7 separate regions of the Homo sapiens genome follow, and all the other regions are linked to region 5. Evidence: promoter capture Hi-C in 16 types of primary human blood cells and fetal thymus (Javierre and others, 2016). All regions are on one chromosome and are shown on one strand. The core of a region is centred on a gene start or on the middle of the fragment in contact, and the rest is flanking DNA. Distances in the headings are between cores, read along the strand shown.

The links. The method cuts DNA at HindIII sites, captures the fragments that hold promoters and counts their contacts. A CHiCAGO score of 5 or more calls a contact.
Region 1: a fragment that was not itself captured here is called in contact with the fragment with the promoter of ZNF24 in region 5 in 2 of 17 cell types (total B cells and naive B cells); the score reaches 7.3 in total B cells.
Region 2: a contact is called between a fragment that was not itself captured here and the fragment with the promoter of ZNF24 in region 5, in 2 of 17 cell types (fetal thymus and non-activated CD4 T cells). The highest score is 7.3, in fetal thymus.
Region 3: a fragment that was not itself captured here is called in contact with the fragment with the promoter of ZNF24 in region 5 in 2 of 17 cell types (naive B cells and total B cells); the score reaches 6.6 in naive B cells.
Region 4: a contact is called between a fragment that was not itself captured here and the fragment with the promoter of ZNF24 in region 5, in 1 of 17 cell types (naive B cells). The highest score is 5.0, in naive B cells.
Region 6: a fragment that was not itself captured here is called in contact with the fragment with the promoter of ZNF24 in region 5 in 3 of 17 cell types (fetal thymus, monocytes and naive CD8 T cells); the score reaches 6.5 in fetal thymus.
Region 7: a contact is called between a fragment that was not itself captured here and the fragment with the promoter of ZNF24 in region 5, in 1 of 17 cell types (total B cells). The highest score is 5.1, in total B cells.

What each region holds. Positions count from the first base shown.
Region 1 is chr18:35,161,264-35,164,499 of GRCh38, reverse strand. No RefSeq gene overlaps it. Among named protein-coding and RNA genes, the nearest start is that of ZNF397, 78 kb to the left of the region's middle. The HindIII fragment of the contact is 2,011 bases long and covers 734-2,744 here.
Region 2 is chr18:35,499,599-35,503,161 of GRCh38, reverse strand. No RefSeq gene overlaps it. Among named protein-coding and RNA genes, the nearest start is that of INO80C, 3.4 kb to the right of the region's middle. The HindIII fragment of the contact is 1,722 bases long and covers 1,189-2,910 here.
Region 3 is chr18:35,178,410-35,181,832 of GRCh38, reverse strand. No RefSeq gene overlaps it. Among named protein-coding and RNA genes, the nearest start is that of ZNF397, 61 kb to the left of the region's middle. The HindIII fragment of the contact is 4,063 bases long and covers 124-3,423 here.
Region 4 is chr18:35,140,539-35,143,822 of GRCh38, reverse strand. It overlaps MAPRE2 (microtubule associated protein RP/EB family member 2), which reads right to left. Exons shown (of 7, transcript NM_014268.4): 7 at 353-3,284. Among named protein-coding and RNA genes, the nearest start is that of ZNF397, 99 kb to the left of the region's middle. The HindIII fragment of the contact is 1,315 bases long and covers 593-1,907 here.
Region 5 is chr18:35,342,969-35,346,164 of GRCh38, reverse strand. It overlaps ZNF24 (zinc finger protein 24), which reads left to right and starts at 1,745. Exons shown (of 4, transcript NM_006965.4): 1 at 1,745-1,805. LOC124904283 (a long non-coding RNA gene) reads right to left here and starts at 2,111. Exons shown (of 2, transcript XR_007066337.1): 1 at 1,426-2,111. RefSeq lists a silencer at 1,518-1,687 and an enhancer at 2,368-2,427. The HindIII fragment of the contact is 2,541 bases long and covers 1,411-3,196 here.
Region 6 is chr18:35,583,239-35,586,625 of GRCh38, reverse strand. All of the region lies in intron 1 of GALNT1 (polypeptide N-acetylgalactosaminyltransferase 1), which reads right to left. Among named protein-coding and RNA genes, the nearest start is that of GALNT1, 3.2 kb to the right of the region's middle. The HindIII fragment of the contact is 2,443 bases long and covers 701-3,143 here.
Region 7 is chr18:35,102,482-35,105,818 of GRCh38, reverse strand. All of the region lies in intron 4 of MAPRE2 (microtubule associated protein RP/EB family member 2), which reads right to left. Among named protein-coding and RNA genes, the nearest start is that of MAPRE2, 63 kb to the right of the region's middle. The HindIII fragment of the contact is 5,583 bases long and covers 1-3,337 here.

The DNA.
Region 1 (3,236 bases), core at 490-2,989, 180 kb after region 5:
TTCCTTCTGTTTGGGAAGGTGTTGAACTTGGGCGCCATGGGAGGAAGCTCGGTACTGTTGGAGAATGCCTGTAGTTAGAATTGTTCCATGTCCAAACCACTCCACCCAACAAGGAAGTGGCTTGAAGTTCCAAACAGATTCCTGGAGCTGGAGATGCATTTAGGGGAAGAGCAGGGCTGGCTTGGCCCGTGAGCTGCACAGCACAGAGCCATGGATGATTAAATGACAGAATCGAGGCCAAAGCTTGAGTAAGGTGCCAGACCAGATGAGAAGCATGCCAGTGGAGGGAGAGAAAAACTGGGCTTGAAACGAGGGCACTGTATCTGAGGACACTGGGCTGAGAGAGGGCATATACAAGGGCAGGTCGGAGGCAGAACTCTAAAGGGCCCTGGGCAGCATTGGACAACCTGGCTAATTACAGAGCTATATGCAACCCACTCACTCACTTTGCAGTGAAAATGTCTTAAGTCAAAAGCACTGTGCAAAAGATCGAATCCCTGGAGACCCCAGCTGGGCTTGCAGGTCTCGTTGTTCTGGCTTCGGGAGAGTGGGCTCCAGGGAGTGCCTTGGTTATCCTGAGAGAAGTGGGAATATTGGACTCTGCCCTACTCTGCCTTCTCTCGTCATCCAAATAATAGCAAACCTCATAGCAGGAGTCCAGAATAGTCATGGTTAAAGGCAAATGCTGGAGAAAAGGTAGGAAACTTTGGTCCTTTACAACTGACTTGAAGCTTTATAACCTGGCAGTTGAAGATGCGGTGATTTCATATCCCCTGTTATCTGCTTTTACTATTTGGCCTGTAATATAAATATAATGCATTTGATGCAAGTTATTCTTTAATTTTAGGTGTGGTCCTTTAAATATTAGAAGTTAGCAGTGAAGGGAACAGGGGTATCTTGGTGGAGTAAGTCACTAGATGGTGTTGGTTTCTAGTTTCATTCCAATACGTGCTGGTCTGGTCATTTTAATTTGTAATACAAAGAAGCTATTGAAGTAGAAGAATATTTTCTTGTTCTCATATTAGAGCCAAATGAGCAAAACATTAAAGAATCATAGTTGAAATTGTTTCCAAATCAGAAAAAATTCTCTATAATTTTCTCATTCTGGTTCCTATTTATATTTTCTGTGGAGACTGAGTTGTGGTTGTCATAGCAATTTATTTTCCTACATGAAATTCTGATACTTGGATTTTTATTATTTGTACTTCATGTCAAGAAAAGACCTATTCAAATCTGAATGTTGCCTTTTAAATGATATCTGACTAGAGTAGATCTTTTAACCATTACATCATCATCCTAATATTTGCTGACTGGTGAATAATAGGATTCCTTAGGATTCTGTTTTGATGGACCAGGAAGTAGTCTTATGAGCAGGGTGTTTTTAAGAGAAGAGTCTGTGTCCTGGTACCCACAAGATACCTTGGTACCCTCCCTTTGCCTTCAGCACCTTCAGTGGCTCTGAGGTCCTTGGGGATTGCCTTCATGTCCGTATACAGTCTTGGTTTAAACCAAAAATCTTTCTTTCCTGGGTTTTGTATCCCTTTTATTTTTTTCCTTTTGCTTTTAGATGGTTTTATTTTTAAAAAGTTTTAAAACTTACAGACAAGATCTCATGCTGTTGTCCAGGCTGGAGTGCAGTGATGCCATCATAGCTCACTGTGGCCTGGATCTCCTGGGCTCAAGCAATCCTCCTGCCTCGGCCTCCCAAAGTGCTAGGATTACAGAGTTGAGCCACCGTGCTGGGCTCTGCTTTTAGACTTTTCCCCATGCAGTTTTCATGTGCTGTTTTGACCTCATTACTTTACTAAAAATTCTCTTTTGAAGCTGACAATGACCCAATTCTTGTCAAATCCATTAGCTTATCGGAATTTACCATTCGCGTCTTTCATGTGACTTTGATATTGTTGACTAATCTTCCTTGAAGCTGTCCCCTCTGGTTTCCATCTTTCTCTCTTTTGTCCTTCCTTCTGTCTATCAGCTATGTCATGCCAAGGTACTTTTTTCAGGGCCCTGCATAGCTGGTCGCTCAGTGAGTCTTTCCCAACATCTAGGTTCTTATTTATCTCCTGCTCCAAAATGTGCCAGTTCCCACAGCTTCTGCCTTGGACAGCTCCATGTTTTGCATTCATTACTCCGTAGGATTATTCACTGCTGGGGTGCTACTTGTCATTACAGAGGACTAACCTTTAAATCCACATCACTGGTTCTGACCACTCACCTCCACTGCAGTTCTGTATCTTGATATCGGCAGGACATCTCCACCTTTAGTACCTGCCATCCAGCACTGGGTTCATTGACTTCACCAATCTCAACGTGGCTGCTCTTGACTGCTAGAAGCACTACTTTTCTGCCAGTTGGACTGTTAGACAGTTGGACTGTGATATCTGCTTCTGCATACTATTTGCTGTGATATCACACCTCACGTAACCTTGGAAAAGATCCACTGTACACTGGTGAAAGAATAAGAATGAAAAAGGCAAATAACATCTCAGGCTCATTGGGAAAATAATTTTGACTTGGAAGATTTCCTAATAAGCTCTTGGGGACTCCCCAAGGGTCTCAGAATCACATTTGAAATCATTGATGTACAGTGTTGCTAAATCTTTTTCTAACTTGACATTTTATTTTTCTTGTACACGGCTTTTCAATTTTGGTTTTGAGGTTTATATAAGGAAAGTTCAAAATCAAACACAAGCATGCAGTCAGAATATAATATTCATTGATGGAATTCAGTCTCTGAAGCTTGAAAACACATCATATGTTAAATGACAGATTTTTAAAAGTCATGATGTTAAACTTCCATGCTCATGAGAGTCAAGTTACGCTTCATGGCTCTCTGCAATTCTGCATTTTCATCTCTCTTGTTCTGACCACCTGGATTGTAAATTTTCTCTGATGTAAAATTAAATTTTTGTTCTCTGTGTTAATGGAGAGAAAAATGAATATACAGGAAATAACTCTGATGTTAAACTTCACCACTGCACCTTTTCCCTTCTCTCTTTTATTTTTATTTGGTAAACCAAGTTCTGTTATGTGCTCAAAACTGCTAGGTGCTGGGGACATTAAATTCGTGGACAAAATGGTCCCACCCCTAAAATCATGCCCTAGGGTGAACACAGTCTTCAGCACCAGCAATCACAACATAATGTGTTAAAAGAGAAGATCTAACCCCTTCAGAAGAAATGTGTAGTGACCTGAGGCAAGGTACTTCTGACTTCTAAAACAATAGTAGGTGA
Region 2 (3,563 bases), core at 800-3,299, 160 kb before region 5:
GCCCGAGCTCTCTTCTGCTCTCTCTATTAATACTGATTGTTTACAATGAGGCACATAGCAGATTGCCACCGAGGGACTGCAATACTCTGAAAACAGCGACAAAGAAGAAACTGTGTCTGCTCAAGTGAGCCTGTGACCCACAAGCACTTACCAAACGATATACTTTGGTCTGTGATGGAGAAAACACAGGCTACTTTAGGAAGGTTCCTCAGAGATGGTGTTCCAGGAATGAGTGCTGCTCTCACACTCCTGAGAGGACTGCCACTGGTCTCTGAGGATTCCATCAGCTTCTCACTGCAATGGGTTTGTTTTCAACTGCACGTCCCCAGAGCTCAGAGTAGACAGTGCACACTAAGCTGCCTCTTTCAGTATCTGGGAGTTGGGGGATTTTGAGCATCTTGACTGCAACAGCTTCAAGGTTTCTTCCCTTCATCAAGGAGTCCCATATCAACTGGAACAGCCATTTTTCATACAGTGAGCATGACTAGCACACTTCACACAAGGTGTCAAGAGAAGAGCAGTGTGTCTTCCATGCAATAGCAGCATGATCCCAAATATCTACTGTGTTTGCTGAGATCTTTGAGAGACAGTAAATTCGGCACTCTGTGTCTCAAGTCATACATAGTAGCTTAGCAGGCACATTATTCATTCTTAATCATTGTCTTAACTGGGATCAAGACTCTGGCTGAGGCTGCTTAACTGGTACACCGCAGTCAGGGCATCAATATCCCAGAGAAAGCCCCAGCAGCCTTTGCCAAAGGAAGTGTGGCATTGGTGAGGGAAACAGGAGCTGCAAGTACCAGGAAGGAAGCTGAAGAGGAAGTGCAAGAGAGGGCGCACACTACGGCAGGGGTGAGACACACCCTGCAAGTTTTCAGGAATAACTGAGGAGGGAACTTAGGGCAGCCTTAGGCCCTGTCTCAACACATAAGCTAGCAGAATGTTGAGTCATCAGTATTAATTTATCTTTACCAATGGACAAGGAAACCCATGAGTTACATATGCAGCAAGTATATGGGATCCTGGTATGTGCCAACACTGGTAGTAACTGGCACTACCACGGTGATCATGGGGCAGGTTTCTCAAGCCAATGTCCTCCAGCATTTCTCCCACTCTCCTTGTTGCTGTCATCTGTTGATGCTCTGCCACTCAATCCCTGATGACTCTGGCAACTGCCTATAGGAAGCTTAAGTCCAGCTGAGAAGACAAATATAATATCTTTCCTTCCCTACTAGAAATGTATGTACTGGGCTACATAGAAAGATCCTCCCAAAAAAAAAGAAAAAAAGGTAATCAACAGGGATTAAATAACTGAGAGAGACTGATGGGAATGTGGAACCAGACCAGAGGAGAGGGAACACTGAAAATGTAGCATGTCAGCCAAGATAGGAAGGGTGCGTGGAATTTAGTGAGACCAGAGGAGGGTGGGGTCGGGAGAAAAGCAGCTTCCAGGCAGGAGGAGCAGTGTGTCAAGGCCTGAGGGAGGAGGGGCACAGCTGGTTGTTGGAACTAACAAAAGTGAAAACTGAGCAGGAGTGCAGGGACCTGGGACAGAGGCAAGCTGGAGAGATGGCAGGTCTCTAAGGACCTTTGGAACCACCTCGTGGACAATGGGCTTCATTCTAGGGACCACAGGAAGCCACTGAATGGTTTCAAGCAGGCGGTGTGATCTGAAAAATGCACATTTGTATCTTTAAAGAAATCATCTGGAATCGCATGTTGGAACTGGGTTGCACGGACCAAAGGTGGAGGCAGAAAGAGAACGCATAAGGCCACTTTGCAAGTCCAGAGAGAGATGGTGGCTGGAATACGGTTATGGTGTGGAGTGGAGGAAGGGGAGGAGTCAAGGATGACTCCCAAGTTTTGGTCTGAAGAACTGGTGGCTAATCGTGGCATTTGCTGAGACAGGAAACACTGAAGGAGGAATCTGTTTTAGAGGAGCAGAGAGGATGATGAATTCTGTTTTTGCCATGCGGAGTGAAAGATGCGTGTAAGCATCTGAGTTTATACTAGGGAAAGGAATTTTACGTCCAGGTATGCTTTTTTTTTTTTTTTTTTGAGACGGAGTCTTCCTCTGTCGCCCAGGCTCACTGAAACCTCCACCCTCCGAGTTCAAGTGATTCTTGTGCCTCAGTCTCCCAAGTAGCTGGGGCTACAGGCAGGCCCCACCATGCTTGGCTAATTTTTGTATTTTTTTAGTAGAGACGAGGTTTCACCCATGTTGGCCAGGCTGGACTTGAACTCCTGACCTCAAGTGATCCACTCGCCTCGGCTTCCCAAAGTGTTGGGATTACAGACATGAGCCACCATACCTGGCCTTGGGTATGCATCTTTGGAGAAAGAGCCAGATAAAGGATGCAAATCTGAAAGTGGTCTGCATTTAGGTGGTAACTGAATCCGCAAGAAATGGTGCAATGGCTGGGGAGAGTATCAACTGAGAAGAGCAGAGGGCCTTGGACCAAGCACCAAGGAACTCTCAATATGTAAGGATTCTGTGCAAGAGTCTGGTTTCAAACCTGGCTGATCATTAGAATCACTTGGGAAACTTTTAAAATGTGAATCTACAGGAGCATGTGACTATATATTTTGAAAAACCTGTAGTAGCATTAGAGACCATTTGGTAACAGAAGACTGGCCAGGAAAGAGGAAAACAAAAAGATGGTGATGTTTCAGATACCAAGGGAAGAATTTCAGAAAGAAAGGAATCAGACAAGATCAGGCCTGAATTTAGTAACAGGAAACCAGATGGCGGTGCATCCACTTGTCTGACTCCTTAAAAGTAGGGAGTTGGTGTTTGAACTCAATAAGGGATGACAGGAAGCAGCCCAGCAGGTCCCCCTGTGCTCACGTGCACAGCGTGAGGACAGGGAAAGGGAAGGGGAAGGAAGGTGTGTCAGATGGCAGAAAGCTTTTCATTGGAAGTAGCATCTGAACTGAGGCAAAATGGATGGTAATCAGGCAAGGAGCTAAGCATTCCCAGGAGAGGAAATAATAGAAACAAAAATATGACAAGCTAAGAAAACATATACATTCTAGGAAATAGAGTTAGTCCTTGGCTGGAACACAAGGAATTAAGTGTTGGGAACCAAGCAACAGAATGGGGCACAGCCCAGTTGTTGTTGTTGTTGTTGTTGTTGTCGTTTTGAGGCGGAGTCTTGCTCTGTTGCCAGGCTGGAGTGCAGTGGCACGATCTCTGCTCACTGCAATCTCCCGGGTTCAAGCGATTCTCCTGCCTCAGCCTTCTGAGTAGCTGGGATTACAGGCGCATGCCACCATACTCAGCTAATTTTTGTATTTTTAGTAGAGACGAGGTTTCACCGTGTTGGACAGGATGGCCTTTATCTCCTGACCTTGTGATCTGCCCGCCTCAGCCTCTCAAAGTGTTGGGATTACAGGTGTGAGCCACCGCGCCCGGCCCAGAGCCCAGTCATTAAGGACCTTGTATGACAAGCCAAAACGTTCTTACCCTGAAGGTAAAAAAAAAATTTTACCCTGAAGGCAAAAGGGCCCTGAAGAATGTAAGAAAGTAAGTGGTATGATTATATTTGTAATTTAGAAATCCC
Region 3 (3,423 bases), core at 906-3,405, 160 kb after region 5:
CTACCTACTTACTTTCTTTGGTTTATTCACATTTTCTTCTTTGACCATAAAATTTCCTAAATTTAATGCTCCTTATTTTTAATTCTGTCTTGAATTGTAAGAAAGAGATTCTGGTTTTAAGCTTATAGGCAATAGCCTAAGATGCATAGGAACGGGGATACTTTTCCAAATCTCCTTGTCTAGGGTTATGGAATCATCTCAATGATTTGGATAAAAGGTAGTATATGAATCCAAAATATTTGTCACGTTTGTATTATTAGTACTGCTAATACGAATTCTATTTAATGATGAGTTACACTGACCTTGCAGGTCTTCTAACTTGGTTATATATTATTTCAAGCATATATAATAGTTTCTACTCGGGGGAGGAAGCACAATATTGTGGAAAAAACATAGACTTCTGAATCAAACAGGTGTGAATTTGCATGTGGGCTCTGCTCCTAATTGGCACTGTAATGAGGGTGAAGTATTGCCATCATTTATTGATTTTTTTTTGGTTAGGAAGTATCTCAGAGCTCACAGAAAAATATATACGAGAACAACTGCTTACCCACCCTTTATCTGTGTCAAATCTTATTTTGCCATATTAATTTCAGATCTCTTTCTTTTTGTTGAGGATTAACATATCACGTTAATTACTGAACTGCTCTGATTTAGAATTTCTTCAACTCTGAAATGGGTGTAGTCATACCTATATTCCAGAGTCATGAGAATTAAACAGTATGCCATATCTAAAGTATCTGCATATGGTAAGTGCTGAAAAACAGTAGTTTCTTCCTTTCTTATGTAAGGAATCCTGAAAACATCATTTTAGTGGCATTTTAGACCTCATATGAATTTTTTAAAAAGATAGAGAACATAATTTTCCTGACTGTAGGCAGCCCCTAACCTTGACTTTGTTATTATAAAAATAGAGGTGATTTTCCTAGCACTGACTTAGGAACATACATCAAAATTTAATATTCCCTGAAACCAAATTCTAAAAAAAATCTTAAAATTTGACAAACATTTGAATTTTCAGGAACCAACTAGTTCCTCATAAATGCATTTTGAAACTAATATTTTCTAGTCACTTGAATATTTGACTGTAAAAAATGAAAAAGGTACTTTTGCTGGCACATGAGCACATAAGAGTTGAAACACAAAGTGAGTTTTCCAGATGCTAAGATGAGAAGTGTTTTCTTTGGTAGCTGATTCTGCAGCAGTAGCAGCTGCCCTAAAATAAGCTGTTGTTCAGGCCAACGAGGAAAGTAAGTCTCAGATGGGGAAAGGGTAGCACACTGGGAGGCATGACTGCTAGAGAACCTAGGGGAATAGCTGCTGAGACAATGCCATGGCCATCTGAACCTTGCTGAGCAGCACAGGCTCAGCATTCATTCATATTTATTAAGTACCTACTAAGTGCCAGGCATAATTCATGCCCTTGGGATACAGAAGTAAAACAACAAAAAAATCCCTTTTGTCATGGAGCTTACATTCAAGGAGTGGTGTTGAGAACAAAGAGATCACAAAAGAAAGAAGGTAATTTATGATATGTTAGAAGGCAGTAAGTGCTATGGAGAAAAAGGAAGAAGGGTCGGGGGTTAGGAAGTGCTAGGTGGTGGCATGGTTTACAAGAACTGTGGATTAATTTGCTTGTTCATTCATTGGCCAACAAATATTTGTTGAGCAAACATTTCATTTGGTCAGTGTAGTAACACATGGTCCAGGATCGGAAGATACTTCCGGTCCAGTGGGGAAGTCGGAAGTATGGCAGGGTATGATCAAGGTATGGCAGGTTATGATCAAGGTATGCCATGGGAAGACAGGAGAGAGGGCAGAGCAACTCTTTCAGGGTCAGGGAAGGGTGTCTTGGAAGAGGAGACCATGTTGAGTGATGATAAAGAACAGGACTGCAAGTTGGGAATGAGTGAGGCAAGAAGTCATGATCAAGGCCTGGCTTCTGCTTGGCCAGCTGGTTGGGGACGATTCTGTTGCTCGGAGTCAGTGTCAGGGAATGCAGAGGAGCACACTGGTTTGGGGGATGACGATGAGCTCTATTGGATGCCTGTGGGTGTCTAGAAGCAGTCAGATAGATGGGCTCACGGCAGAGAAGTCTGGCCCGGAGAAGCCTCATGGCACGGTGGGAGATGCCCAGGCATGTTACCCAGAGTGTACTGGGTCTTAGGCAGCCCCGTTTCCAAGCGGAATGATCTTAGAAGCAAAGAGCAGAAAGAGCCTCACAGGCTGCCTGCTGCTCTCTTTCACATGGGATAGCTACAGACCTTCCTATCCCTACTACTTGTTCCCTTCCTGAGGGCTTATACCCCAGGCTTTAGGATTCATTTTGGGGGAAATTAAGGAGCCCTTATTTAAGAGTTCAGGCAGATTGGCCTTGTTGCCACTCATACTCAGGACCTCAGCACTGAATCAGGTCACTGATGGTCTGTCTTGGTTATAGAATTTAGACCAACACAACATCTAATAACTGGGCCTTTATTACCTTGAGTTCTAAATCCTGGCCTGACAACCTGCCCTAAACTCTTACTCCTTTGAGACTGGTTTTCCATTCTGACCTTGATAGTTCAGTTCCATTTGTTCATGAGCACCTGCTGAGTCCCAGGCAATGAAGGTAACGTGACAGGTGCTGAGATTCAAAAATGAATAAAATACATTCCCTGCCTATATGCAGCATATTTGTTTAGCAGGAGAGTTGGTCATATAAGCATGCAATGATAGTTCTGTATGATTTGATTCAATAATAGCAGAAAGTTCAGGGTCCAGAGGAAGCACAGTTCTGCCCAGGGACAGGGGTACCAAAACCCAATTGTGGCCTCAAAGCCATCTGCTATCTGCTGCAAGATGTCACTGCTGGTGGCTGCTGACAGGCCTACCACTCTTCTCCACTCTGCTTTCATGGGATTGACCCATCAGTGGTTTTAAGCATCTTACTGGAGTTTAGATACAGCGTTTTGCCAGTTGCCTTCACTACCTTTCTCTGCTAAATACTTGAACTGTGCAATCTGTCTCCTTGCGTCTCTCTGTTCTTCTGTCCCACTTCAACTTCATCTGTAACACACCAGTTTTCTAGTCCCTATTCTGAACATGGAAAATTAACATCCATAAATGTTGAAAGTCTTGAATCTGTATCAGAATTTGAATCTAGTTTCCCAGAGTCTTGGTGCAGTGCTCCTTTTATTAACGCTCCTGATACGGCCATGTATTTGAAAGGAATGGTGAGGAATCTGCATTTTTGATAAGCACAGTATGGTGGTTTAAAAAACTGTCTGCAAATTCTTTGACTTAAAAGACTAGGTTAAAAGAGGTGACACAGCTTCTGACTGACTCTCTCTTGGGATGAGTCACCATGTTGTAAGGATGCCCAGGCCACATGGAGAGGCTTGGTGTTGTGGGTCTAGCCCCAGCTGAGGTCTCAGCTGACAG
Region 4 (3,284 bases), core at 1-2,500, 200 kb after region 5:
CCAGCACTGTCTTGTCCAGATGGAGTATGCTGGACCTGCAGGAGCTAGGATTCTGTTTGCTTGCAGGTGGAATGTTTCCCAAGGGAATGTTTTCTCTTTATGTCTTTTTTTTTTTTTTTTTGGTAAAGTTTTTAAAAGGTATTATAGCTGCTACATTTGATATCAAATACGAGTCTGTAACTCTTGTTAACAACATTGGCCATCAATAAAAACAAAGACAACCCCCGCCCCGGGGAAATCATAATAAAATGTGGGTAGATGTGTAAATCCACACAAATCTATTCCTATTCACATGCTGACTGAAAAGGGAAGCTTCAGCATAAAAATTTAAGAATCTGTAACTCCAGGCAGATTTTAACATATACTTTTTTTTTTATTAAATATGTAAAAAGATCAATGCAAGTCAAGTTATTCACATATTCAGAGACAAAAAACTATTCTACCATGCGACAATAGGTGGGTAATGTAAAATGAATGTGATACATCTGAATAAGACTTTTTCATCTATTATGTCATTACTTATCTATATTTATAATTAACAATACATATGTTTACATTCCTTTCAGTTTACATTTAATATATAACAAAAGCTTTATGGTGTCCTATTTAGTAAAAGTAATCTGAATGCATATTAAACCTTAACGGAATAATGGAAATACTCACCAGGGAAGGGAAGAGTTCTTGGTTCCCTTCTGGAATTTACTTCTCTCAGGTCAACAGGTGTTTTTCTTTCTTTTTTTTTTTTTTTTTTCCTGCTTTTCTGCTTAGAACAAATATGGGCTTTCTCTTTGCCCCCTGCTTCGATCACTTCCTATCTGACAGTAGCAGTGGAAGTGCTATAACCAGCCGACAGCGGGCACGAGGGGGGGTACTAAGGATGAAACTGGGCTTCCTGAGAGGGAGAAGTGGAGCACGCAATCAGGGACGCTTCCTGCCCAGCCCGATGACATGTGACCAGGGGCCGCTAAGGAAACTGTTCCCTGAATGCCGAGATGAGAGAATAATGGGGTCCCACCATCCATGGGAAATGAGGGGGGATCTGCAGAGGCTGGAGGTGCAGCCTAAGAGGACTGACTCAAATTCAGCTGTTAAAGATTCCCCAAAGCATCTGAGACACCATCTGGGGTGCAGCACAACAGAAGACGTTTAAGATGGGACCAGAAAGAAGAATGTATAGCTCTTCTCTAAATAAACGAATGGTCTGCCCCAAGCCTTCAGGAAGGAGAATGGTCTATGGTGACTGGGGAAAGTTCTCTTTGCAGGCTAAGAGATCTGGCCAGCATGTTTATAACTGAGAAGGCTGGGGAGCTGGAGGGCAATGGAGTGGTTCCTGCAAGAGTCACCAGGGAGGCTTATGCAAGTTATACAGCAGTAAGGGGTTGCTGGAGAAGGCAGGATCCTGACTCCCTGCTACCCACTCACGTGCATCCACATGACAGGAGTTTGGTCATGATCCACTGAGCATTGGGTATGACTGAGATGTCCAGAGCAGATGAAGAATGGCCTAGGAACCACTGCAGTATCAGGTGCATAGAGTTATTGTGACCTTTTACAAGAGCTATTTTTTGTTTTTAAAGAGATCAGTGAGTACAACAGGCTCAGAAGGGCAACACGCTGTTAAGCATGATGCTGGGTATAGCACAGCCACTACTACTTGTGACCAGGTGTGGGAGGACGTCACTGCCGAGAGCCAGGCTGTCCAGCCTTAGAGAAATAAGCTGCTGCTATAATGCAGAGTGAGCAGGAGAGAGAAGAAAGGGAAACCAAACACCACGGAACATCTGTCTAATTCTGCACAGTGTGTTGTAATAATCTGAAAAATACAAGCCATCTTTTCCACATAACTCAATAAATATCACTTTGCTGCAAAAGATTTATTTTGGAGAGACTTCTTTTGGTGAAAAGCTTCAATGCTAGAATTTAGAATTCATATTTCATCGATTAATAAAGAAATTTCAAAGCTTCAGGATACATAATTCAGAAATTTATTTTAAGCTTTTCAGTTAAGCGGAAAGTGGGGTGGGCACATTTGTTTCTTGTTTTTGTTGCACCTGCTAAGTCAAATAACAAGTGAAAGTAAACCTAAAGTTAGAAACCAAGGTGAAATGAATGATCCAGGAAGGGATACCATCTGTCAAAGGAAAAAATAAAAATAAAGAAAAAAAAGAGGCAAAGACTTGGAAAGAGACTAAGAAAATGTACAAATATTAGTTAAAAAATAAGGAATGCTTTTAATTCATTAATGTTTCCTCTATTTATGAATTGCCATGGTTTAGCTAAGGTCAATGACAAGGAGGGCCCTTGTGTTAAAGAGGGAAAATTCTTTATTCTAGAAGATATTGGGAGTCATAGATTTTTCTGTGCTGTTATTCCAGTGTCTACACCAGACTGCAGAACCATGATTCTCCCTCGCAATTATGCTCCTATTAATAAGGTCTTCACTTCTAGCCTTACAGCAAGTGTGTGGCATGGTGCAGAGCCTTGGAGCTCAGGGCTGCACACCTGAAGTTACCCTTTAGTAGGGGTCCCCTAGAGTGAATGACAGTTTTGTGGCTGAAACCTACACAAAGAGGAAGAGGAATGAGGCAGGAAGACCCGTACCTAACCATACCCTCTTTGGACTGCAGAAAACTGATGGCAACATCTCGGGGAGTGGCTGCCCACCAAAGAGGACCCTGAGAAAGAAAAGAGCATAACCTGGGAAATGGGCTACATGGGGGCAAGGGACATGGTGAGCGGGCAAAGTTGAGATGGTGTTTTCCTTGAGTGAATGTCTTTCAAAACTAACAACATACTGTGTAGTTGTCTAACATGCTGATGGAGGAACACTGCTGGGCCCTGAAATCCTAGCTTTGAATCCATTTTTTCCCTTTAGTATTGTGAGTAGAGGGAGAAAATGACCTTATGTTTTCCCCCACGACACAAGTCACCGTCATTATGGCTTTCATATCAAGTATCTGTTTCCCTTTGTTCCAATTATTTGACCAAATTTATGTTCAGAGGTTAGACTTGCAAACATCAAAGCACCACAAATGTGTGTGACATCTAGTGACACTGGGTTGAAAAATGCCAATATAAATACCATATATCAAATTACCATTGTTTCACACCAGGATAAAAAGAGGGGTGGTGGCAGTGGTGTTGGGGTGGGAAAGAGTTGTTCTGGAAAGAAATGAAGAAAAGAGCAGAACCAATCTCAAGCAGCCAAGTGGTGAAGTTGGATGTATGTGACCCTACGATCTCTCGGGTAGGTGGCCAGAGGGCCGTCCGCTAATACACCTTGG
Region 5 (3,196 bases), core at 496-2,995:
CTGCAGTGAGCCAAGACTGCACCATTGCCCTACAGCCTGGGTGACAGAGCAAGACCCTGTCTCAAAAACAAAACAAACAATATAATCACAGGAAAAGGGTTTTGTAAAATTTTGCAACATTTTTAACTTCCTCAAGGTTAGGTTTCAGATTTATTATTTTTGTTTTCCAACATTAATTAGATGTAAAAACTCTTAAAACAAAAATGCCTTCAGCTAGCCTTTACAAATCAGATAAGAGGGAAAGGTTGGGAAGAGCAGCCAAGTTGCTTAGGGGCCGTATCCAAGTAGCAGAGTGAAAAGGCTGTACTTCTGAAGCTTCCTGCAATGGAGAGAAGTGTTAGCAGGGGTTGTGAGAAGAGCTCTGGTCGGAATGAAAAGCAGTGGTATACCATCAGCTGCTCGCTCACTTGCTCTCTCATGCACGAATCCAGCGGAGCCTGACGGCACTTTTCAGAGGGCATTTTCTCCAATGAGGCAAAAAGTCAAAGCCTGAGGATCTTGAAATGCTTATGTTAGGCTGGATCTACACTTTTGACCAGTCCTTAAACAACAGGGCTCCTTTGTGTGGTGTCTGATGCCAATCATGTGACCTAGCTAAAGGCAGCAATGTAACCATCCCACAATTCATTTATTTATTCAACAAATATTTATTGAGTTCTCTATTTACCAGGCAGTCAGCTTCCAGGATCTAGGATGGGATACTGTGGTGAGCAAGACAGACAAGGTCCCTGCCCTTAAGGGACTTAAAGACAAAACAAAACAAAAAATAAAACAAGTAAATAAATGAGATCACTTCCATTAATAACAGTGCCATGAAGGGTCATGCGCCATGAAAGGCAGGTGGTGAGGCTGAGGATCTTGGGCCACAATGAGCCGAGGAGCTGAGGTGACTGGGGGCGCCAGGGTCTGGGGGTGCGGGCAGGCAACAGACCACAGGGGACTTACAGGCCATTATAAGGAGTTTTTATGTCATAAATTATTATGACATAAATTGGAGGGCTTTAAATAGGGGAGTGAAGTGGTCTGATTTGTAATTTTAAATGATCGCGTCAGCAGTTGTTTTATGGTATAAAATGCCCAGCTTTAAGATGACCATGCATTCTACAAATTCACCGTGACATCACTGCCAAAACTCTTAACCTGTCTTATCTAGTTTTCCTGACAGATAAATAGGTCGGAATAAAGCTCCATGACATAACTAGTGGGAGCCAAAGATTTGAATCACGTCTTGGTTTCAAATCTTGCTACCCACAAATGAGTTGTGAGCTCTTGTCAGGTTATTTACTGTATTTGTGCCTCAACTATCTCAGCTGTGAAATGGGGATAATGAAAGTTCCTACATCATTTATTTGTGGAAAAAAAAATGACATGTAAAGCACGACGAGAGCGCCTGGCACAATGTAGTAAGCTTTCACAAACACTCACTTTCATTCCTTCTTGCAGGGGATTACTGAGAGGATCCACAAGATAATGCACGTGAAAGGGCTTGCGAAATTGTAAGGACTATCTTAATGGTAGAGTCCTCTTTATGTTTTCTTTTAAACGGTCCAGAGGACGCTGGGCTGTTCGAGGAGAGGCGCGAGGCCAAGCGCAGCCTCAATGCGGTCATTGTCGTGGGGCCGCCCCTCCCCCGCCCGGGGCGCTTCTCCATGGCAACGTGGGCTTTACCTCTCCCCGCCTCCTCAGGCCCGCAGACCGGAAGCAGCCCGCGCCGGGGGCTTCTGGGAAAAGGCTTGTGAACGGCGTTTCTGCGTCTGCCGTGGACAGCGAAGCTGCTGCGGTTCCTGAGCCGGAGGTTTGCGCCGGTGTGCGGGGAACGTTATGAGAGGGAGGGGGGACACCGGGCTAGGGTCTGCGGACCTCTTAGCAGGAGCCGGCGGGGAAGCCTGTCCGGGACCTTCCTCAGCTTCCCGGGAGGCGCGGGGAACAGGCCGCGGTCTCCGCGCCTAGCAGTTGTGGGGCGGGGAGGGGTAGGCGGCAGGCCTGCTTGGGTCTTCGGCATTTGCAGAGAGCTCTCTAACCCCCTGTGTCCTCCGAGACCCTCACCTTCCCCCTCCCCCACCGGCCGGTTTTGTTCTATTTCGAGGCCCTGGCGTCTCGCGGAGGGTTCTGGGAGTCGTGATGGGAGGGGGTGGTAGTGGGACGAGACTTGCGCGGGGCTTCTGGGATTTGTAGTCTCACCGGCCGCAGGCGGAAGTGCCGTGGTTCCGACGCTGTTGTCACAGGGTGGCCTTTGGTCATCTGAAATCCGCGGTCCTGAGTGCTGGGAAGAGGGGCTAGAGGACGTCGGGCCGGGGCCGGGGCCGGGGCCGGGATACACAGCAGGTCTATGCAGCAGTAAGGTGGGCGATCCACCTGGGACGAGGTACCCTGCCCAAACATTGTCGGGACCGTGGGCCTTCCCTCCATTTCCCACAAGCGGTATGCTCTACAGCATAAAAGGAAGAGAAAATTATGTAGAAATACTTGCACCGTTGATAAGCAGGGTCTTGGAATAGGAACGAATGAATGTTGGCTAGACCTTATGTATAAGGCCACCACACTCCAGGGTATTTAATTAAACCAGTATGTATTACTTGTCTGATAAGGCCTTTTCTGATTCTAGTCTTCATCTTGCTTGGGTTACAATAAGTTTTTTTAAGTTGTTATTGTTCAGATTTTGGGCCCTGAATAAATAAATAGGCTGAATGGCTCATTGCTAGTATGTGTCGTAAACAACAGCACGGGCATGATCGTGCAAATAATAAAGGTCCAGAAGCAGTATACAGTTTCACTGAAGGTAGAAGCTGGGGAAACTGTGAGTCCTCCAGTGTAAGGACAAGACACTGGACCACTGCAGGAAGTCAAGGTGCTTATGCGAGTGCCTTTTCTTAATAGAAGTTTCTGTGATTAATGCCTATCATTATAAATATAAATGTACGTATGGTGTGGTGGAAGACTGAATATTTACGTATTATGTGCAAGATAATTTTTCAAAATTATGTGATGTTTTTCACATATGATCTTTTCAATATTATGTGATCTGCTACTCAGCAAGTGAACATTTTTTCACATATAAGTCCAAGGAGTTCTTAAACACCTTAAAAATATTTTTTAAATGGTAAAGAAAATTTTTTTAAGCACATAATAATAAAGCGAACCTTCCTTTTGAGTTGACTTGTGTGTGTCAGGAAACACCAATCCTGAATTGGAAATA
Region 6 (3,387 bases), core at 673-3,172, 240 kb before region 5:
CACACACAAACACACACACAATTTTGACCTAAATCTCAGCTTCATAAACTGGATCATGTAAAAACCACAAAACTATTAGGGAAAAAAAGCACAAGGGAAAAATCTTCAGGATCTAGGGCTAGGCAAAGAGTTCCCAGACTTGACACCAAAAAGAATGATCCATAAAAAAATAAACTGAGAAACTGGACTTCAACAAATTTAAAACTTTTGCTCTGCAAAAGACCTTATTAAGGGGATGAAAAGACAAGCTACAGACAAACAACATACCCAACAAAGGACCAGTATTTAGAATATATAAAGAATAAACAAGTCTCAAAAGTTAATAGTAAAAAGGACAAACAATCCCATTAGAAAATGAACAAAAGATAGTTCCCTGAAGAAAATATACAGTTGACAAATAAGCACATGAGAAGTGTTCAACATCATTAGCCTTTAAGGAAATGCACGTTAAAACCACAATGAGACATCCCTATACACCTATCAGAATGGCTAAATGGTGACAGGCCAGGCGTGGTGCCTCATGCCTGTAATCCCGGCACTTTGGGATGTTCCAGCCATGCTAGAACATTTTACAAAACAGCTCACCAGTTTTTTAAAAAACTAAACATGCAACTGCCACACAACCCAGTAAGTGTACTCCTGGGCATATATCCCAGAGAAATAAAGACTCTGTTCACACAAAAACCTATACACAAAAGCTTACAGCAGCTTTATTCACAATAGCCAAAAACTAGAAACAACCAGATGTTCAACAGGTAAATGGTTAAAAGATCCGTAAAAGTACATTCATACTATGGAATATTACTTAGCAATGAAAAGGGAGTAATTACTGATACATGCAACAACCTGGATCAATCTCCAGAGAATTATGCTGAGTGAATAAAGCCAATTCCAAAAGACACTTATCCCATTTATAAAACATTCTTAAAATGGCAAAATTACAGAAATGAACAAATTAGTAATTGTCAGAGTTTAAGGAGGGGGTGGAGGTAGAAGGGTAGTAGGTGTGGCTACAAAAAAACATAAGGAAATCTTGTGGCCATGAAAATTTTCTCTATCTTGACTGTTTCAATGTGACTATTACAGGTCTGGAAATTGTACTATAGCTTTACAAAATGATACCATTGGAAGCAACCAGGTAACTGAGGACTAAATGAGGACACACAGATATAAATGTAAACTGTTATCCCTACCCTTAAACACCATACACTCAAGAGGCATAAATCAACAGTGAATAACTTCATCAAGGAGAAAGACCTTGAGCAAATCTATGAAAAACAGGTAGCACTTCCACAAGTGGAGGTGGAGAAGGGGACATCTTGGGAAGGAGAAGAAATCACATAAAAAGGTACAGAGCCAGAAATAAGCAAAGTGCCTATGAAGAAAGAGGCATGTGTCGGGGGTTGTGAAATAACATAAAAATGGGATAAGAAATGTGGAGGGTAACTCTGAAGGGTCCCCAAAAGTCAGGTGCAGGAGTTTAAATGTTACATACCCAGAGAAGCCGTCCTCCCCAACCCAGCCAACCTGAAGTTCCCCCACCTACAATCTCTCCAGCATCCTTTACTGCTAATGTGTAGCAATAATCACAAATTGTATTTATGTACTTATTTGCATGTTTATTTAATGCTATCCACCCCCAGTTATCTTGAGACTACAGCACTGGGTGTGGCACACATTAATCGCTCCATACAGGGGTCCCCAACCCCCAAGCCATGAACCAGTACCAGTCTGTGGCCTGTTAGAAACCTGGCCACACAGCAGGAGGTGAGCAGTGGGCAAGCGAGCATTACTGCCTGAGCTCCACCTCCTTCCGGTCAGATCACCAGCGGCATTAAATTCTCATAGGGCAAACACTACTGTGAATTTTACATATGAGGGATCTAGGTTGCACAAGACTTATGAGAATCTAATGCCTGATGATCTGAGGTGTAACGGTTTCATCCCGAAACCATTCCCCTGGCCCCCAACCTGGTCCACGGAAAAACTGTCTTCCACAAAACTGGTCCCTGGTGCCAGAGAGACTGGGACTGCTGAGTCAATAAATATTAATTGAATAAATGAACAAACAGTAAGTAGTCACTCCTAACTCTCTTCTACGAAGTTGCCGCACTCCTCTTCCTCCATTATCTGTCACTCCCTTTGCCTTGGTCCCTCTTTGCCTAACTGCCTCTTTTAACTGATCTCTCCTCTTTCCTTCCTCCTCTACCTCAGCCCAGCTCTTAACCCATCAAAAAATAAAACTTGGTATATAACTGCAATGGTATAACACTCTTCTGCATCTCAACCAATTAGGAACTGTATCCAAGAAATCTGTTACTGAAAAAAAAGTACCAAAGTTGTATGTTACATAAGCATGACAGATGTATTACATAAATAAATAAGTAAAAGCAGAAACAGCGTCAACCTGATTGTGACCTTTCATGAGAATGAGTATGGAAAGCTGTCCATCAAAGAAAGCCAGGACAGTATTCCTCAAAACTACCAAAGTTATGGAAAACCAGACAAGACAGAAACTATCACAAACCAAATATTAAAGAAACATGATGTCAAAATACAATGTAGTACACTGGACTGGATTCTGGAACAGAAAGAAGATATTAACGGAAAAACTGGTGAAATCCAAATAATGTCTGGAATTTAGCTACCTAAAAAAATACAAAATTTTTTAAAAACTATATGAAGCACTAATGTGTGATTCAGATTCAAAATTATTATTATATTAGTTAAAAGAGGGATAGGGCATGCAAGTGAGCCAGGAGCAAAACTCCAGTCAGAGTAGCTGGAGCGTCCCACTGAAAGTTACAAACAGATCTATCTTCATTTTGACTCTGGTCCCATGCTCTCTCACCTGATGTCATGAGAATTACCTTGCCTGTAACTGCTTGGGATTAACAATCAGTTTTGTTGTTGTTGGGTTTTCAGTTTTTTGAGACAGGGTCTCGCGCTGTCACTCTGGAATAGCTAGGACTACAGACGCATGCCACCACACCCAGCTAACAACCACGCTTAAGTATCCTAGCACACTCATTCGTTTATCCAACAAGCATTTATACCAAGTGCTTATTGCTTACCAGGCACTGTAAAGTCTTCAGTGATACATGGCTGGAAAAGGAAGCCACAATCTCTGCTCTCATAAAGCTTAAACTCTATTGAGAAAGCCAGGCATTTAACAAGTATTTGCATAAATGGTGAGTGCTCCCAAGAGTTTTGCAGTCTGCTGCTTAAGAGGCACCAAACAAACCAGCAGAGCAGTCATTAAACGCAGTTATCACCAGCACGCTGAACAAAGGCTTCTCAGGTTTCAAAGTGCACACAAATAACTTGAAATCCTGGTAAAGCAGATACTGATTCAGTTGATGTGCAGCGGGGCTTCACATTCTGCAT
Region 7 (3,337 bases), core at 715-3,214, 240 kb after region 5:
ATAAAGATCCCAGGATACTATGAGGCTCTTTAGTAAGGTTTTAAGTTTTTTTTTTTAACTGAGGTTTGTACTTTCTATTGATACCTGTATATTCCTTGCCCTAATGAGCTATGTGCTAAGAAACCACATCCCCATCTTTATTACAATTATGTCTAAATTAAGAAAGAGCAAACACACTCTGGGTAAGTACCTCAGAAACTCATGAATGAAGACTAAGGTGCATACATTTTATAGCACCTATTCTGACTCTTGGAAGACATTTTGGCTTATATTATCTTGGCTGTATTCCCAATAACTGGATATGACTTCTAGAAAAAATGAGGTCTTAATGCATTTATAGGAGCCTTTCTCCTATCATGGCTTTTAATAATAACACTCTATATGTGATATACCCCCAGTATAGTTTTACTACCCTACAATGCCCAAAAATCAGAGCATATTTTATTAGAAAGGGAATGGCAGTTTGACTTCTGAAAATATCATTTCTCCCTGATTAAGACCAATAACGTAAACATGGTCAAGGTATCAGGAACATGGTCTCAGGAAATTACTGCCTTCCAGAACATTAAAAATAAAATTTATTATCTGTTGACTTTAATGTGTTTCCTGAGCATTGTCACCCAAGAGGTTAAGCTCTAGAAAATATATATTTCTCTTTCAGGTTCATGGACATTCTATCAAAATGGCACACGTTTATCTGCAGCTTTTGTGAAAGACAGATGAGGGAATTCCTAGAAAACGAGGCCAAGGTAGCATAGTAACAGTGCTATTTGGGTGTGGAGGAATATTGGTACCAATGAGAAAAAAATTAAGGACAGGTTATGATCGTGGAAGAAAATATTCTGAGGTCTGTCCAATCTCACTACAGAAAACTTGAAAAAAATGGCAGTTGAGTTTCGAGTCCAAGCTATCCATCATTCACAGCTTTAGAAAATGACATTAAGATGAGAAATATCAGACACCCTTGATTTTCTTAGCTTTTTGTCCTCCCACCCGACATACCTCCTGAATCCCAGACTTTGGAGAGGGCACAACATCCCCCTTTTCTCCACCCCAGCTCCTAGACTGATGAAAACTGCTGACAAAAGTTGAAGGCCTATCTAAACTGCCATCAATGTTTGTTTCCCAAACTCTTTGTGGCTTAATTTTTACCCAGCCTCTCCTATCGCTTTGGCTCCAAGAAAATAAATATCCTCTCTTTTCCTTTCTAACACTTTATCTATGCCCTTGACATCTCACCTTTTCCTTTCAGCTTTAGCGTCATACTCCAATTTCCCCTCTTTTTCTATTTTCAATGATTCCTTCTCCACAGACATGTCTCCCATCTTACAAACCTGCTTACATTGCCTTATCCTAAAAGCAAACAAGAACAGTTGAAAAAAAATAACATCTTCCTTCCAATCTTATTTCCTGAAGCTACTATCACTCTTTTCCCTACACAAACCAAATGTTTTTATTTTCCTCCATTTTTTTCTGACACATTTGTTAAAGGTTGAATCTACTCTTACTGCCTCCACTTCCACAAGCCCTTGTTAAATTGCTGCAATCTAGGCCTATGCCCTCAGTATTTTAATGGACCAATTCTCTGAGGGACTATTAATCACCTCCTAGGAGTCAGACTTTGGCCTATTTTTCAGGCTTCATCCTATTTGATATCGCCACAATTAATATTTGGCACTGTTGGTGACCCCTCTTTCTACAAATTTCCTACGGTTTTTGTTCTCTGATGCTGAGCTCTTCTGGTTTTCTTCCTGATGTTCATCTTTTTTGCAGCTTCCTCTTCTTCCTCCTCCCCCTTAAATGTATGTATTTCCAAAGATCTGTGCTTAGTTTTCTTTATTCTATATAGGCTCACCCATTATGGCTCCAAAGTTGGATCTTTCCACTGTCTCAATTTCCTTTCTCCAACTTTTTCCTCAAGCCATTCCTGGCTCTACCATTCTACTGAACGGAGAAATCATTCAAGTTGAGAAATCTAATGAACTCTTTCAGGCCTCATTTAACTTGACTTCTCAGCAGATGTAGACATTGTTGACCATTATGCTCCCTACCTTCTGCTTCCCTGACACATCACTTCCTAGTTTCCTTCATTCTTTCTGGCACCTTCTCTGCTTCCTATGCAAGCCCTTCCTCTTCTACTCAACCAGTAAATGTCCAAGTTTCTCAAGACACTCTACCCTTTATCATTCAGTATTTGCTTCCAGCTTCCATTACATCAATATGTGGAAGAATCACAAATGTTTATCTTTAGCCTATAACTCCTTTGAGCTCCAGACACACATGTGCACCACCCCCAACACAAAAATTGCCTATGTAGATCTTCTCTTAAATGTCACAAAAGAATCTCAAACTTAGTATGTTCAAAACAAACTCAAGATTTCTTCCCAAATCTGGTTCTCTTTCAGCACTTCTTGAACAAAACCCCAAATCCTTCCAGTTGTACAAGAAGTCATGTTTAACATCTCCTTCTCTTTTATCCCAGCATTCAGCCATTACCAACATCCAGTCTATTTTGCCTCCTAACAACTCTCCCAGAGTTGTTCATTCCTCTTCATCTACATGAGTACTATTTTAAGGCAGATGAAGAATTCATCTAATTCATACTAGTGAGTATGAGTATTCATGTTATCCTTAAAAATATTTATTTTTAAATATTAAAAAAATTTCAAAAAGTAATGCCAGTTTTCCAATGGTTTCAGTCTGCCTGGAATACAGCCATAAATCCAGAAATAAGATGATAAAAATGCTGTTTAACAGTAAGCAAAACTGTGATTTCAAAGCTCTTACCACCTATGTGGTCCTGTTAACCATTTCTACTTCATTCAGATTGTAGTTTGGGCACAAATAAGAAATTTGTTTTATTTACAAAATTCAGGTTACTGATTTAACAAGTTTGAACACTGGGTTCCACAATTGAGATGGAAACATGATTTTGGATGATTTCATGCTTAATTGTGCAGTACCCAACTGTGTTTCTAATAATGACCCAATTTTATAAGAACACATTCTGCTTGGTAAGGTCTGCTGTTTATGGCAAGGATGTTTATAATATATTTTAGAAAGTGGTTTTTTCTTTTTTTATCCACAGAAGTTTTAAAAGTTTTAATGTTCCAGATATTTTTCCTCAACGACTTCACTTTTGGACAAAGCTGGATAAATAGGGTATTGCTGAATGTTACTGCATAAAAATTGCCACTGCCTACAGAGGAGGTAGGATGTACAGTTCACGAATTTCCTTTGAAGGGTTAGAGACGATGATCCATATTTAACAACAGAGTTCAGTTCATATGCTGGTCTGTACTGCCAGCAATTAAGCAGTAAAAATACTTCAGTCAAA